Linked DNA regions of Homo sapiens: all the other regions are linked to region 2. The links are contacts of gene promoters, found by promoter capture Hi-C in blood cells and fetal thymus (Javierre and others, 2016). All regions are on one chromosome and are shown on one strand. The core of a region is centred on a gene start or on the middle of the fragment in contact, and the rest is flanking DNA. Distances in the headings are between cores, read along the strand shown.

Region 1 (3,251 bases), core at 551-3,050, 180 kb after region 2:
GAGGAATTTTGTGGGCACCCCAGCAGGGGGCTTCCAGCCCCTGAGCCGTGGCCTGCCGTTCTCTTCCCCACAATGTTCGCTCTCTTGACTGTGGCCCGGTTCTGTCCAGGGACAACCCAGAGAACTCTTCTGCCCTCAATGGGCTGCAACGCACTTTCTCCAGCAAGGACTGAACCCCAGTCTCGGAGAGCTAGGCTTCTTCACGTTCGTTCTTTCTTTTTGGGTTCTCCCCCACCCCTGCGAGATCATCTAACATTCCTCTTTATTCCCACTGCACCATTAATTTCTATCCTGACTGATTCACAACCCCGAGTTCCGAAGCAAGGGCAAGCTGTGGGGCGCTTCTTGCCGTCTCTACTCAAAACGGAAAAAGCTGGCCAGGCGCGGTGGCTCACGTCTGTAATCCCAGCACTTTGGGAGACTGAGACAGGAGGATCGCTTGAGCCCAGGAGTTCAAGATCAGTCTGGACAACGTAAGGAGACCCTGTCTCTTCAAATATATATATATATATATATATATATATATATACACACACACACACACACATATACATATGTGTATATATACATATATATGTGTGTATATATATACACATATATGTGTGTGTATATATGTATATATGTATATAATTATATATGTATATATGTGTATATATACGTATATAATTATATATACACACATATATGTGTATATATGTAAAATTAGCCAGGCATGGTGGTACGTACCTATGGTCTCAGCTACTCAGGAGGCTGAGGCAGGAGGATCGCCTGAGCCCTGGGGTGTTGAGGCTGTGGTGAGCTGTGATGGTGCCACTGCACTCCAGCCTGGGGCAGGGACTGAGACCCCATCTCAAAAAATAAAAATAAAAAGAATGGAAAGAACCAATGAAATCTTGATGCTATTAACACCTCTGAATATTTCACTGGTTTCTAGAATCCACACAAAACAGGAATCCTACAGAATGATGGCTTGCAGAGGACATTGTAACAGGGCAGTCAAACCAGTTGGAGAAGTGTGCTCTGTCCTATAAAAACGTGCTCCTTCCTGACGTCTACCCCATGTTGGTGGGCCCATGATCTCCTCCTAGACCTCTCAGCTGAAATCAGTCCTGTCCCTGTGTTTGGTGTCCTTCATACCCTCTCGTGGCTGCCTCCCTGCCACGGCCCTGGCTCAGGCCCTGGTCACCTTGCCTAGGGTAGTGGCTTCCCTGGGAATGCCATCTCCACTCAATACTCCTTCTGGTGCTAGAGTGCCCTGCTCAAGGCCTCACCTCCCACGAAGCTTCCTGAACAGCTTAACTCACTGTTTCTTCCTGTTCTGCCCTCTCCTATTATCTGTGCAAATCTGAAGGCACTTTCTGCTCTGTCATGTACCTGATCTTTCCTGCCAGCCTAGACTGCTTTGATGAAAACTGCATCAGATAGCAGAGGAAACACTTATTTGTATGGAAGTGGCGTCCTCTGCTGGTAGAAGTATGTAATGACTGGAACTTTTCCCTAGCTGTGTAAAGGACCCTCACTGCCCAAAGCTGAGACAACCAGTGATACCCAAGGAAACCCAGCTGCCCTTCTCTCTGCCCACCCCAGTCCCTAAGCATGTAAAATTCAATCCACTGACTCACTCACCAGATTTCCACACCTCACTATTACACTAAGATGTTCCTGATGCTCCAGTCTCATGGATAATGGCAATCTTTAACATTAATTGGATATGCACTGTATATGCCAGGCACTGGGCTAATCTCTTCATCTGTATTATATTATTTAACCCTCATAGCAACTTTGTACGGCAGACAAGTGGACCAGATTCCTTAAAAGCAGAGCCTGGGACAGATTTCATGCATATCTTCTTCTGTTGGGGAAGAACCCTCAGAAGAAAGAAAAGGAAGGAGAGTGGGGTGGGGAAGGAGGGAGCCAGGCTGTGGTGTCAGCTGTGGCTGAGCTGCGGCCTGATTTCATGGGGATCCCTGAAGCATGTGCTACACCAGAGTTCATCTTGTCTTGAGGTCGGGGACTGGCCTTTCCTGCCCCTGTGTCAGACAAGCATCGGCTGCAAGCCCCAAGTAAGGCAGCTTCCATTCCCGGGGAAGTCTCTGCAGAGGGAATAACTGTGAACTGTTACCAGCCAAACCTCACAGCAGCCGGTGGGCAGGGATGGAGGGTTGCACCAGACCAGTAAAGGGGATTTGGCTGGGCACTAATAGCAACCATGGTACTGTTATTTCTACTGTACAAATGCAGAATTATAATCTTCCAGGTTTGTAGATACTTTATAGATTTTGAGTGTTTTCATATTCATTACCTCATTCAATGTTACAGTAAGCTTGAGAGGTAGTGATCATGATCCCCACTTTATGAATGAGAGTGAGAAGTGGGAGACTTCCTCAGGATTGTCCAGCCAATAAATACCTTCTCTGTTTATAAATAGCGTCTTCTCAGATACATAGGCAGCTGTATTGGGTCCCAGTCCAACCTCTTCCCTGTGACATTCAGGCTCTGGTCGTTTACCAAGGATCTTACAGCCCTTTTAACTCAAAAGAGCCATGAAGCTGGCAACCTTCCTTGCTGAGACTAGGTACGAGGATACACCTCCTATCAGGTGAGGCCTTACCTTGCCTGCCTGACACTTTGCTGGGCTCAGAATGCTTCTCCAAATTCCCCCATGGAAAGAAGACACCCGGGCACTTCTCACCTGCTCCTGCTTCTGCAGTTCCCTTGGCAGTTTCCTTAGAGGTGTCCCAGCAAGCTAGAGTCTGTCAGAGGACATTGAGGGCCAGGCCAGAGAAGTTTAGAAAGAGTCCCAGGACTACCTGAGCACTGCCTTCACCTGCCACAGGGGTAGCTGTGCAGCCAGTCTTGTGGCAGAGGCTGGGGTTTCCTGGATCTTAGAAGTGTCACCTCTTCCACCCTCTCAGGGCCCTGGACTTTCGCCCTCAAGCTGCCTCTGGATCTAGCAAAGGCCCTGAGCCATCTTTGGAATGGATGAGTTCGAAAAGCTGCATTAGAGTGGCTCCCCTCCTTCAACGCCACCTCATCAGAGTTCTAAGGGATGCTTCACACCTAAGAGCTGATGAGGTACAGCAGGAGCACACAGGGGACCCAGAAACCTCGCATTGTGTTGAGAAACAGCTGACTGACTCAGGTTCAAATCCCCCACTCTATCACAGGGCATCTCAGTTAAGATGAGGTAGAAATGAGAGTAACAGAAAATTCACAACAGCAGCAATTGTGTTGTTATTGAGTGGCCCTTG
Region 2 (3,266 bases), core at 559-3,058:
GTGTGTGTGTGTGTGTGTGTGTGTGTGTGTATGCGCCTCTTTTCTGAACTCCCCTAGTAGGTAGGGTTTGGAAGCAGCCACTCAAGTTGGAGCAGGATGGAGCTCCCCAGAGACTGGACCTGCCCTTTGCTCGGCCCAGTTTTGCAGCACTGACTCAGCACTTCACAGGGACCCCTGGGGCAGGGACATTGTCCTCTCTGTGGAGAAGGTCAACCACCAGGCATCAGCTGGGGAGCTGCAGGAGCTACTATCACTCCTTTGCTGGTCAAGACTGCAGGGGCACACAGAACCTCCCAGCCCACCCTTTGGGCCTTGGAGTCAGCAGGTCCCTAGAGAGACCCAAGGGAAGAGGACCGGAGCAAGGAATAAGGTAAGAGGGGAGAACCTGGCCCAGGGAGGGACTGAGGGATTGGAGCCAAGGTTACCAGTCAGGCCTTACTTACCCCCTGGGTTGGCGCTGAACTCCAGTGCACTGCCCCACTCTGGACTGCAGGAGGCGCTGTGAGAGCTGCATTCGCTGGGCACCTGCAAGACAGGGCGAAGGCCCAAGGTCGGGGCACAGCCATTCTTTGATGTCTCTCTCTGCCTAGTCCCAGTGGGCAGAAGTACCTGTGGTGGGGTTGGAGGGTGGGCCACAGGCTGTGGCCTTCCAGCCCAGGCCATCCCCAACCCCAGAATCTTTGTAACTAGCTCCTCTCACACCCCAGAGGCCCTGCTTCCAGGCCTTCCTGGCTTCCATCCTGGGTGGTGGTTCTGCTCTCACAGGACACCAGCTTAAAGGGGTCCCTGGTTCTCCTGACTCTGGCGATAAGGGTGATGGAGACAGATTTTGTGGCCCAGTGAAGGTCGCTCTGTGCAGGCCTGCTGGAGTTCCAATGAGACTGAGTGGGTTTTCTCTCTGCTCAGCCACACCCAGGATGGGGGCAAAGCAGTCTTCTCTGGTGAACTTGGCCTGGCCTTTTAGGCTCTGACTCAGGCGCTGGGATTAATCCTCACCCTCACCTGGGCTGACTGTGGCCTTGCTCCTGATCTTTCTTCAGTCCTATGTTCCCCACCCCAACCCCTTCTGCACTTCCTCCCCACTGCCTTTATCTTGTCTGGAAAGAACACAGGACACAGGAGGTCAGCTGGATAGCCCAGCTCTGACCAGGGAAGGGCTCCTGCAGCCCCTCGACCCTGTCTGGCACCTGCACCAACCCTCTGAGCCCCTCTTGGGGTCTTGAGGCTGTCCAGGTGCCTCCCTCTGGCCCCGTCCCCTTGGGGCAGGGGGATGGGATGGCCACTTACCCCTGGCTGGGGCCCGCCCCCGCCCCGGTAGCGGAGGTCACGCTCCTCCTGGTTGAGGGAGCTGAGCAGGGCCTGGAGGCGCTCGATGTACTGGATGGCACTGCGCAGGATCTCCACCTTGGGCAGCCGCTGGTTGGGGTTGAGCAGGGTGCTTCTCTTCAGGGCCTCGAAGGCCTCATTCACCTTCTTGAGCCTGCGCTTCTCCCTCAGTGTGGCCGCCCGCCGCCGGTCCACGGACACCGACTTCCTCTTACACACCTTACACGCCCACGGCAGGCACTGGCCTGGACAGTGCTCGGGGGTCCCCAGCCCCTTGTCCTCAAGGGGCCCTGGGGCCTCGGGGCTCAGGGTGAGCTCCGTCCGCTCGTAGCCTGGTGGTTCGAAGCCCTGGAGGTGGACAGGCAGGTAGTTTTCCCCATCATAGAAGCGGGGTTCCTGGTAGAAGTAGGGGGATGTCTCATACAGCTCCATGGGGTCGGAAAAGGCTTGTTCCTGCCACCAGCCCCCAAGCTCCAGCAGCCCCTCACGCCAACTGCTGGGTGCCATTTAAACCCTCCCCGCTGGCATGGAACCAGAGATAAATATAGCCAACGCCACAGAAACCTGAGCCCCCTCTAAGCTGTTGCTGCACATCAAGGCGTTTACAGTGGATTAGATGTGATTCCCCTTCTTTCTCCCGCATGGCCCCCACCCCACCCTGCCAGCCTGCCCCTGGCCCAGGCGGGCTCCTGTGCACGGGTCGGGAGGCCGTCGGGTGTAATTTGATTAGTTTTCATTTCTCAGCAGCCCCTGTGGGGCAGGGGCGTTGGGGGAGGACACATTCCCCTCTCATCTGCTCCTTTCAATTACTCCTAGCTGGGCGGCCTGCCTGCTGTCTCCTTGCAGTCCCGAAGAAGCTGGTGGGTATAGGGGGAGGAGGGAACAAGGAAGGGTAGGCTTAGGCTGGAAGGGGCCTTAAGAGCCAACTTATCCATCTCCTTGCTTCCTGACAGCACCTTAACCACACTACATCAGTCGATGAGACTCTTTTAAAGACTTCCCTCCGGAAAGAATGGGACTGCTTCAGATTCTGGGCATTCATGGGCACTCAGTATCCAGGGATAAGAAGGATCAAGACTCAGAGCAGCTAACAGATTCCACTTTTGGGGTTCCCAAGCAGCTTTGAGCTGTATGTTCTCTTAGGTCTCATCTGGGGGGGTAAATTGAGGCAAGAGAAATTATTTGGGTTTTGGTTTTCTTGGCAGGGGTAAAGAGAAATTTCCTCTTTAATACAGCAGCCGTGGTCAGAGCAGAGATTAGAATTTACAGCCTACACGTTGCCACCTTCCCCAGAGCGGCAAGGTCAAGATGTCCTAAGCTCCCTGTCTCCTCCCTGTCTCACTCCGGACCATTGATCTGTCCTTCTATGTTACCTCCTCAACTCTTTTTCCAACACCAGAATTTTCCTGGCTCATTAATGTGGACGGGGGTGAAAAAGTAGAAAAAACAGAGCCCTTCAAACTCAGTTTAAATCTCCTCTCTCCTTGGCCACCGGGCTTGGTTGTTCTGCCTCTTACTGTCTGAGCCATCAATTTTACACGTATCATGCAGGTCTCAAATGTCAGGTAGAGCAGGGACTATTTAATCTTCAGGCCTCTCAGGCCATGGTCACCTCTCAGTAGGTGCCTCAGGGTCTGAGAGGACAAATTCCTTCCAATGCAGTGGGCAGACCTTAGACACTAGCAGTGAACAAGGCTCAGTCTTAGGGCTGGGGATTATAGGGACACCCCAGACAGGATCCCTGCCCTCGAACTTACCATCTGATAGACAACGGTGATCACCTCTTTCTACCTAGCCCCTGATGCCCAAATCTCCTCCGAGGCGGCTACTGTTCAGCTTCTGCTCACGTCAGGAGACAGCCCGTTCCATTGACGTGTAGCTTTGGGCTGCAATCTGCTCCCTCTATCTTTTATCCTTTGTTCCCAGTTTTTTCCTCCCCA
Region 3 (3,268 bases), core at 63-2,562, 170 kb after region 2:
GTGGATTCATAGGCAAATTCTACCAAATGCCAAACTTTCTCAAATTCTTCTAAAGAATAGAATAAAAATCTCACCCCAGGCTGGGTGTGGTGGCTCACGCCTGTAATCCCAGTACTTTGGGAGGCCAAGGCAAGCAGATCACTTGAGGTCAAGAGTTGGAGACCAGCCTGGCAAACACGGTGAAACCCTGTCTCTACTAAAAATACAAAAATTAGCCAGGCATGGTGGCATGCACGTGTAATCCCAGCCACTTGGGAGGCTGAAGCAGGAGAATCGCTTGAACCCAGGAGGCAGAGGTTGCAGTGAACAGAAATCTTACCACTGCACTCCAGCCTGGTGACAGAGTGAGACCTTGTCTCAAAAAACTAAAACTAAAAGGTAGGTATTATCCACATAACTGATCTTTTTAATCTTGATTACCAGGCCGGGATACTATTTGCCAGGTTTCTACTTCTCCACCTGGCTTCCCTATTCTACTCTTTGGAAGCGAGTCAGTAAGTGCAGCCCACACTCTAGGGGTGAGGAGTTAAGCTCCACTTCCTTGGGGAAGAAGCAACTACATACCTTTATTATATAATTCTGTATGGGACATTTGTCCCTTCTCTCCCATTTATTTACTATATCATTTATTTATATCCATATGGACTCATAGATATTTATTTATGTTTTGAGTTATAATCAAATACTATTAGTACATTATTTATTTTGCTGCTCAAATTTTTCCAGCTTTGGCCACCGAGAGCTCTTTAATGTTGGCTTGTTTCAGTCAGCATAAAGTTTTTGAGACTCATCCATTTTGTTGTTATCAGTAGTCTGTTTCTTTTAATTGCAAGAAGTATTGTATTTTATGAATATATCCCACTTCATAAACATTGGGTTATTTCCAGTTTTGGCTATCAGAAATGCAAAGCTTCTATGAACAGTTATGTATACGTCTCTTCGTGGACATATGTTTTCATTTACTTTGAATAAATACACAGGTGTAAAATTAGAGTCATCAGCTAGCTTTATGTTTAATAAGAAGCTACCAAGCAAGCAACTTTTCAAAGTAATTGTGCCATTTCACACATCCAAGAGCAACGTGAGAGTTTTTGTTATGTCAAATGCTTGCCAACATGTGGTGTTGACAGTCTTTATAATTTTAGACATTCTAGTAGGCATGTAGTGATTCATTATGGCTTTAATTTGCCTTTGCCTGCTGAGTAATGATGTCGAGCACTTTTTTTATATGTCTTTGTCCATTCATATGTCTTTGTTTGCTTCTGAAAATGTTGCTCAAGTCTGTCATCCACATTTTTATTGTGTTAGAAGTTCTTTATTATTCTGGATAGAAATCCATATTCAGATATATGTACTGTGAATGTTTTCTACCAGCCTTTGGTTTTGCCTGTTCGTTTTCTTAGCTGAGTCTTTTTTTTTGTATTGTGGTAAAAACCACACAACATTAAACCATCCTAAACATTTTTAAATGTACATTTCAGTACTGTTAAGTATATTCACTTGTGCAACAAGTCTCTAGAAATTTTTCTTCTTGCAACACTGAAACTCTATACCTACCAAACATGAATTCCCCATCCCACCTCCCGCAAGTTCTTGGCGACTACCTTTTTACTTTATGTTTTGAGGATTCTGACTTATTTAGATACTTTATATGAGTGAATTATACAGTATTTGTCCATTTGTGACTGGCTTATTTCACTTAGCATAATGTCCTTAAGCTTCATTCATGTTGTAACATGCCCTTTTTTAAGGGCACATAAAATTCCATTATGTGCATATACCACATTTTCTTATCCAATTACCTGTTATTTCCTCCTGTTGGCTATTGTGAATAATCCTGCAATGAACATGGGTGTGCAAATATCTCTGAGATCTGCTTTGAAGCTTTTTGGCTATATACCCAAAAGGGGGATTGCTGGATCATATGATAGTTCTATTTTTAATGTTTTGAGAAACTCCATACTGTTTTTCATAACATCTGTATAATTTACTTTCCCACCACCAGTGCATGAGGACCCAAACTTCTCTGCATCCTTGTCAACACTTGTTATTTCCTGTTATTTTTATAATGGCTATCCTGATGGGTGTGAGGTGATATCTCATTGTGAGTTTTATTTACATTTCCCTAGTGATTAATGATGTTGAGCATATTTTCATGTACTTAATAACCATTCATATATCTTCTTTGGAGAAATGTCTATTTAAATCCTTTGCCAGTTTTTAAATTGGATTATTTGGGGTTTTTCTTGTTGTTAAGTTGTACAAGATCCTTATATATTCTGGATATTGACCCCTTATCAGATATATGACTTGCAACTCTTTTCTCCCATTCCATAGGTTGCCTTTTCTCTCTGTTGACTGTTACTTTGATGTGTAAAAAAACTTAAGTTTTATGTAGTACTATTTGTCTATTTTTTATTTTGTTGCCTGTGCTTTTGGTATCATATCCAAGAAATTATTGCCAAATCCAATTGTTGGCATATAATTGCTCATAATGGCATTTACATTTTAAGAAATTGCTGATAGTGAAGGACTTACTGTTGCCATTTTGTTCATTGTGTTCTGTTTCACTTGTAGCTTTCTTTGTCCCCCCCCCCTTTTTTCTTTTGATAATTTCTTTTGTGTTTCATTAATTTTTTTTTGTGGCCACAGATTTTGATTCCCTTCTCACTTCCTTTCCTTTACAGTCTTTGTCCATTTTCTGTTGCTGTAACAGAATACTTGAGACCAGGTAATTTATTTTTTAAAAAGAGGTTTGTTTAGCTCACAGTTCTTGATGCTGGGAAGTTCAAGATCAAACAGCTGCATCTGACGAGGGTCTCATGCTGTGTCATAACATGGAGGATGGCATCACATGGTGGTTATGCATGTGAGAGCACTGAGCGGGTACACACACAAGAGAGAAAACATGAGGGGTGACCTCACTTTATAACAACCCACTCTTGCGGTAACTAATCCAGTCACTGAAGAGCAATAATTCACTCCTGTGAAATGGCATTAATCCCTTCATAAGGACAGATGGCTTATGACCCAAATGCCTCTTAAAGGTCCCACCAGTTCTCAACACCATTACATGGGGAACAAGCCTTAACATGAATTTCAGTGGGGGATAAACCATATTCAAATCATAGCACTTACATTCTATAGTTACTGTCTTTGTGGTAACCATTGCAATTACGTGAAACATAACCTCTTAATGTTTTAACAATCTACTTTTAATGAGTACCATGTGGTGGTTTCCTGATTAAAGCCCCTTAATTCAGAAAAA
Region 4 (3,318 bases), core at 374-2,873, 150 kb after region 2:
ATGCCTTCAGCAAACTTCAATTAACAGCCCACCACACCTTTGCTCCTAAATTGTGTCCCTCCTGGGGCTGCCCTCCCTGGCCCTCAAGTCCTACAGAGATCACTCTGAGTTAAGCCTTGCCTCTTCCACAGTCAATGTACTCCATACTACCTTCTGCTATCTTGGAACAACTCCTTCCATCCAGAATAGGAAAGAACCCTGGCTTGGAGACAGACAGAACTGGGTGTATCTCAATGGATATCACCAATAAATTACTTTCATAGATTTTATACTCTCCTTTCCAGCCCCATTGGCTTCTCCCACCCCTTTCTCAGCCACTGCCAAAGCCCAAACCAAGTAAAACCAGTGTGCTTGATATAAAATGAGGCTTCAAAGCAAGTCCCCGTCCCACCCTACTGCAGAGCAGATGCCTGTATAGAAATTCTAAAGCTTCTGCTGATTTGCATCCAACCTGGCTGGCTGAGCTGGGGCTAGTCACAGCCTCTCCAAGCCTTGGTTTTCTCATCTGTAAAATGGGGATAATACTACCTATCTTATTTGGTAATGATGTGGATCGAATAGATAATGTGTGAGAGGGCTTTGTAGGTGGGAGGACGCCAGCCAGATCTCATGGGACTGCATCTTGATGGTTGGTATCACACCTTTTTCTCTTGCTTCATGTGAGCATCTCATCTCTGTAGCTGGACTGTCCATAGCCAGGCAGAGTGGGGCCTCTCTCCACACCTCTCTATGTGTCCCTCAGCACCAAGCATACAGGGGGTCTTCAATTAATGTTTGTTAACTGTTCCTTCCCACGTCCCACCGTGTTCTTCCCCTTAGCAGTAAAAGACATCACCACCTATCCGGGTCTCCAAGTCACCCAGGAAGTGTCCTTGATCCTTCCCTTTCCTCACCCTCAATGATCAGGACCTATTAGACATCCTGCCTCCTGCTCCATCTCCTCCACCTCCTAACCACCGTCAACTCCCACCCTGTCCCCAGAAGAGCCTCCTACCTGCCTTCCTTCCTAATTCTCTTGCCTCTGCAATCCATTCTCCACACAGCAGCCAGAGTACACTTTGAGAAACTTAAATCAGATCCTGTTGCTTTCCTGCTAAGACCTTGCAATGGTTCCCACTTAAAATAAAATATCAACTCCTTAACTCTACCTCTAGAACACTCTAACTCTATTCTTTCATTAGGACAATGTTCTTTCAAAGGACACCTTCTTGGCAGGGAAGATAATTTATCACTGGACATAACTAAATTAAAAAAACAAATTTTTGAAGCCTCTCAGGCTCACTTATCCATTGTGCCTGGAGCTGAGGCGTTAGATCAGGTGGCAGAAAATCTTTATGGACTAAACCCCACGACTTTGATTAAGTCTATTGGAGGCCCCACTCTAGTAAATTTTGGAATTATGTTTCTCTGTTTAACCAGCTTGTCTTTAGTGTGTCAGACAAGTCAAAGAATCCTGCATCAAAATCGAGAGAATGAACAAGCCTTCATCGCCATGGCACATTTATATAAAAAGAAAGGGAGAGATGTTGCGGGAAGTCAGGGACCCTGAACGGAGGGACCGGCTGAAGCCATGGCAGAAGAACATAAATTGTGAAAATTTCATGGACATTTATTAGTTCCTCAAATTAATACTTTTATAATTTCTTACGCCTGTCTTTACTGCAATCTCTGAACATAAATTGTGAAGATTTCATGGACATTTATCACTTCCCCAATCAATATTCTTGTGATTTCCTATGCCTGTCTTTACTTTAATCTCTTAATCCCGCCATCTTTGTAAACTGAGGATGTATGTTGCCTCAGGACTCCGTGAGGATTGCGTTAACTGCATAAATTGTTTAAACAATATGAAATCTGGGCACCTTGAAAAAAGAACAGGATAACAGCGATGTTCAGGGAACAAGGGAGATAACCATTAGGTCTGGCTGCCTGACAGCCAGGTGGGACAGAGCTATATTTCTCTTCTTTCAAAAGCAAATAGGAGAAATATCGCTGAATTCTTTTTCTCAGCAAGGAACATCCCTGAGAAAGAGAATGCATTCCTAGGGGGAGGTCTCTAAAATGGCCGCTCTGGGGACATCTGTCTTTTACTGTTGTAGATAAGGGATGAAATAAGCACCAGTCTCCCGTAGCACTCCCAGGCTTATTAGGATGAGGAAATTCCTGCTTAATAAATTTTGGTCAGACCGCTTGTCTGCTCTCAAACCCTGTCTCCTGATAAGATGTCATCAATGACAATGCATGCCCGAAACTTCATTAGCAATTTTAATTTCGCCCCGGTCCTGTGATCTCGCCCTGCCTCCATTTGCCTTGTAATATTTTATTACCTTGTGAAGCATGTGATCTTTGTGACCCACACCCTATTCATACACTCCCTCCCCTTTCGAAAATCACTAATAAAAACTTGCTGGTTTTGCAGCTTGGGGGGCATCATGGAACCTGCTGACATGTGATGTCTCCCCCGGACACCCAGCTTTAAAATTTCTCTCTTTTGTACTCTTTCCCTTTATTTCTCAGACCGACTGACACTTAGGAAAAATAGAAAAGGGCCCACGTTGAATATTCAGGGGCGGGTTCTCCTGATACCTTTGCACCTGCCATTGCCTCTGCCCACAATGTTCTTCTCTGTGATCTTCACACAGCTGGCTCCTTCTCCTCATTCATGCTTTTCCTGACCACTCATAGAAAGTAGTGCCCTCCCCTCAAGTCACTCTCTGTTCTCTCCTGATGATTTATTTTCTCCTAAGTACTTTCATGGCTGAATTCATTCATTCATTCATTCATTTGTGTGTAGTGTCTGTTTCCTACCACTAGAATGTAAGCTTCATGAGAGGAGGGACTTTTCTTGTTTAGTCCTCTTTGTCTAGTACCCAGAATATTTCCCAGCACATAGTAGGTGCTTAATCCATATCTATTGAATTAATTAATTAATTAATGTGACCTCTCTGCATGATCTGGCCCACTATGATATTGTGATATAAGAAATGTATATTTGGTCTTTGTCCCCAATTTCTGGCACGGAGCTCCTAAAACCCTTAAAATTTCTTGAGAAATAGGGGTTCTAGGTGCATCTCTTGTTCTAATGTTTAGCCTTTGACCCTAGTTTTGACACAGAACTCCTAAGCCCTTGGAACTTCCTGGGTACTAGGAGCATCTTTTGTTCCAAAGAGGTGCCTCTTTGTGGGCATCTGGAGGGGGGTTGGTCACCAGAAAGACCAAGCCATGATGAGAAGTTTGGAACCTTCAGCTCCACCCCCCATCCTCTGGGAAGGGGAGTGGGGCTGAAGACCACGTAATCATGCTTATGTGGGGAAGCCT

The links. The method cuts DNA at HindIII sites, captures the fragments that hold promoters and counts their contacts. A CHiCAGO score of 5 or more calls a contact.
Region 1: a fragment that was not itself captured here is called in contact with the fragment with the promoter of MYOG in region 2 in 3 of 17 cell types (M0 macrophages, M2 macrophages and M1 macrophages); the score reaches 6.2 in M0 macrophages.
Region 3: a contact is called between a fragment that was not itself captured here and the fragment with the promoter of MYOG in region 2, in 3 of 17 cell types (M2 macrophages, M1 macrophages and endothelial precursors). The highest score is 6.4, in M2 macrophages.
Region 4: a fragment that was not itself captured here is called in contact with the fragment with the promoter of MYOG in region 2 in 1 of 17 cell types (endothelial precursors); the score reaches 5.6 in endothelial precursors.

The regions. Positions count from the first base shown.
Region 1 is chr1:203,267,792-203,271,042 of GRCh38, forward strand. It overlaps LOC124904486 (a long non-coding RNA gene), which reads right to left. Exons shown (of 2, transcript XR_007066798.1): 2 at 1-3,251. Among named protein-coding and RNA genes, the nearest start is that of LINC01353, 18 kb to the right of the region's middle. The HindIII fragment of the contact is 1,041 bases long and covers 1,281-2,321 here.
Region 2 is chr1:203,084,204-203,087,469 of GRCh38, forward strand. It overlaps MYOG (myogenin), which reads right to left and starts at 1,809. Exons shown (of 3, transcript NM_002479.6): 1 at 1,288-1,809; 2 at 444-525. The coding sequence starts at 1,758. It overlaps MYOPARR (myogenin promoter associated myogenic regulatory antisense long non coding RNA), which reads left to right. Exons shown (of 3, transcript NR_160550.1): 2 at 169-370; 3 at 2,280-3,266. RefSeq lists an enhancer at 3,128-3,266. The HindIII fragment of the contact is 23,849 bases long and covers 1-3,266 here.
Region 3 is chr1:203,249,933-203,253,200 of GRCh38, forward strand. No RefSeq gene overlaps it. Among named protein-coding and RNA genes, the nearest start is that of CHIT1, 22 kb to the left of the region's middle. The HindIII fragment of the contact is 808 bases long and covers 909-1,716 here.
Region 4 is chr1:203,233,014-203,236,331 of GRCh38, forward strand. No RefSeq gene overlaps it. Among named protein-coding and RNA genes, the nearest start is that of CHIT1, 5.0 kb to the left of the region's middle. The HindIII fragment of the contact is 2,393 bases long and covers 428-2,820 here.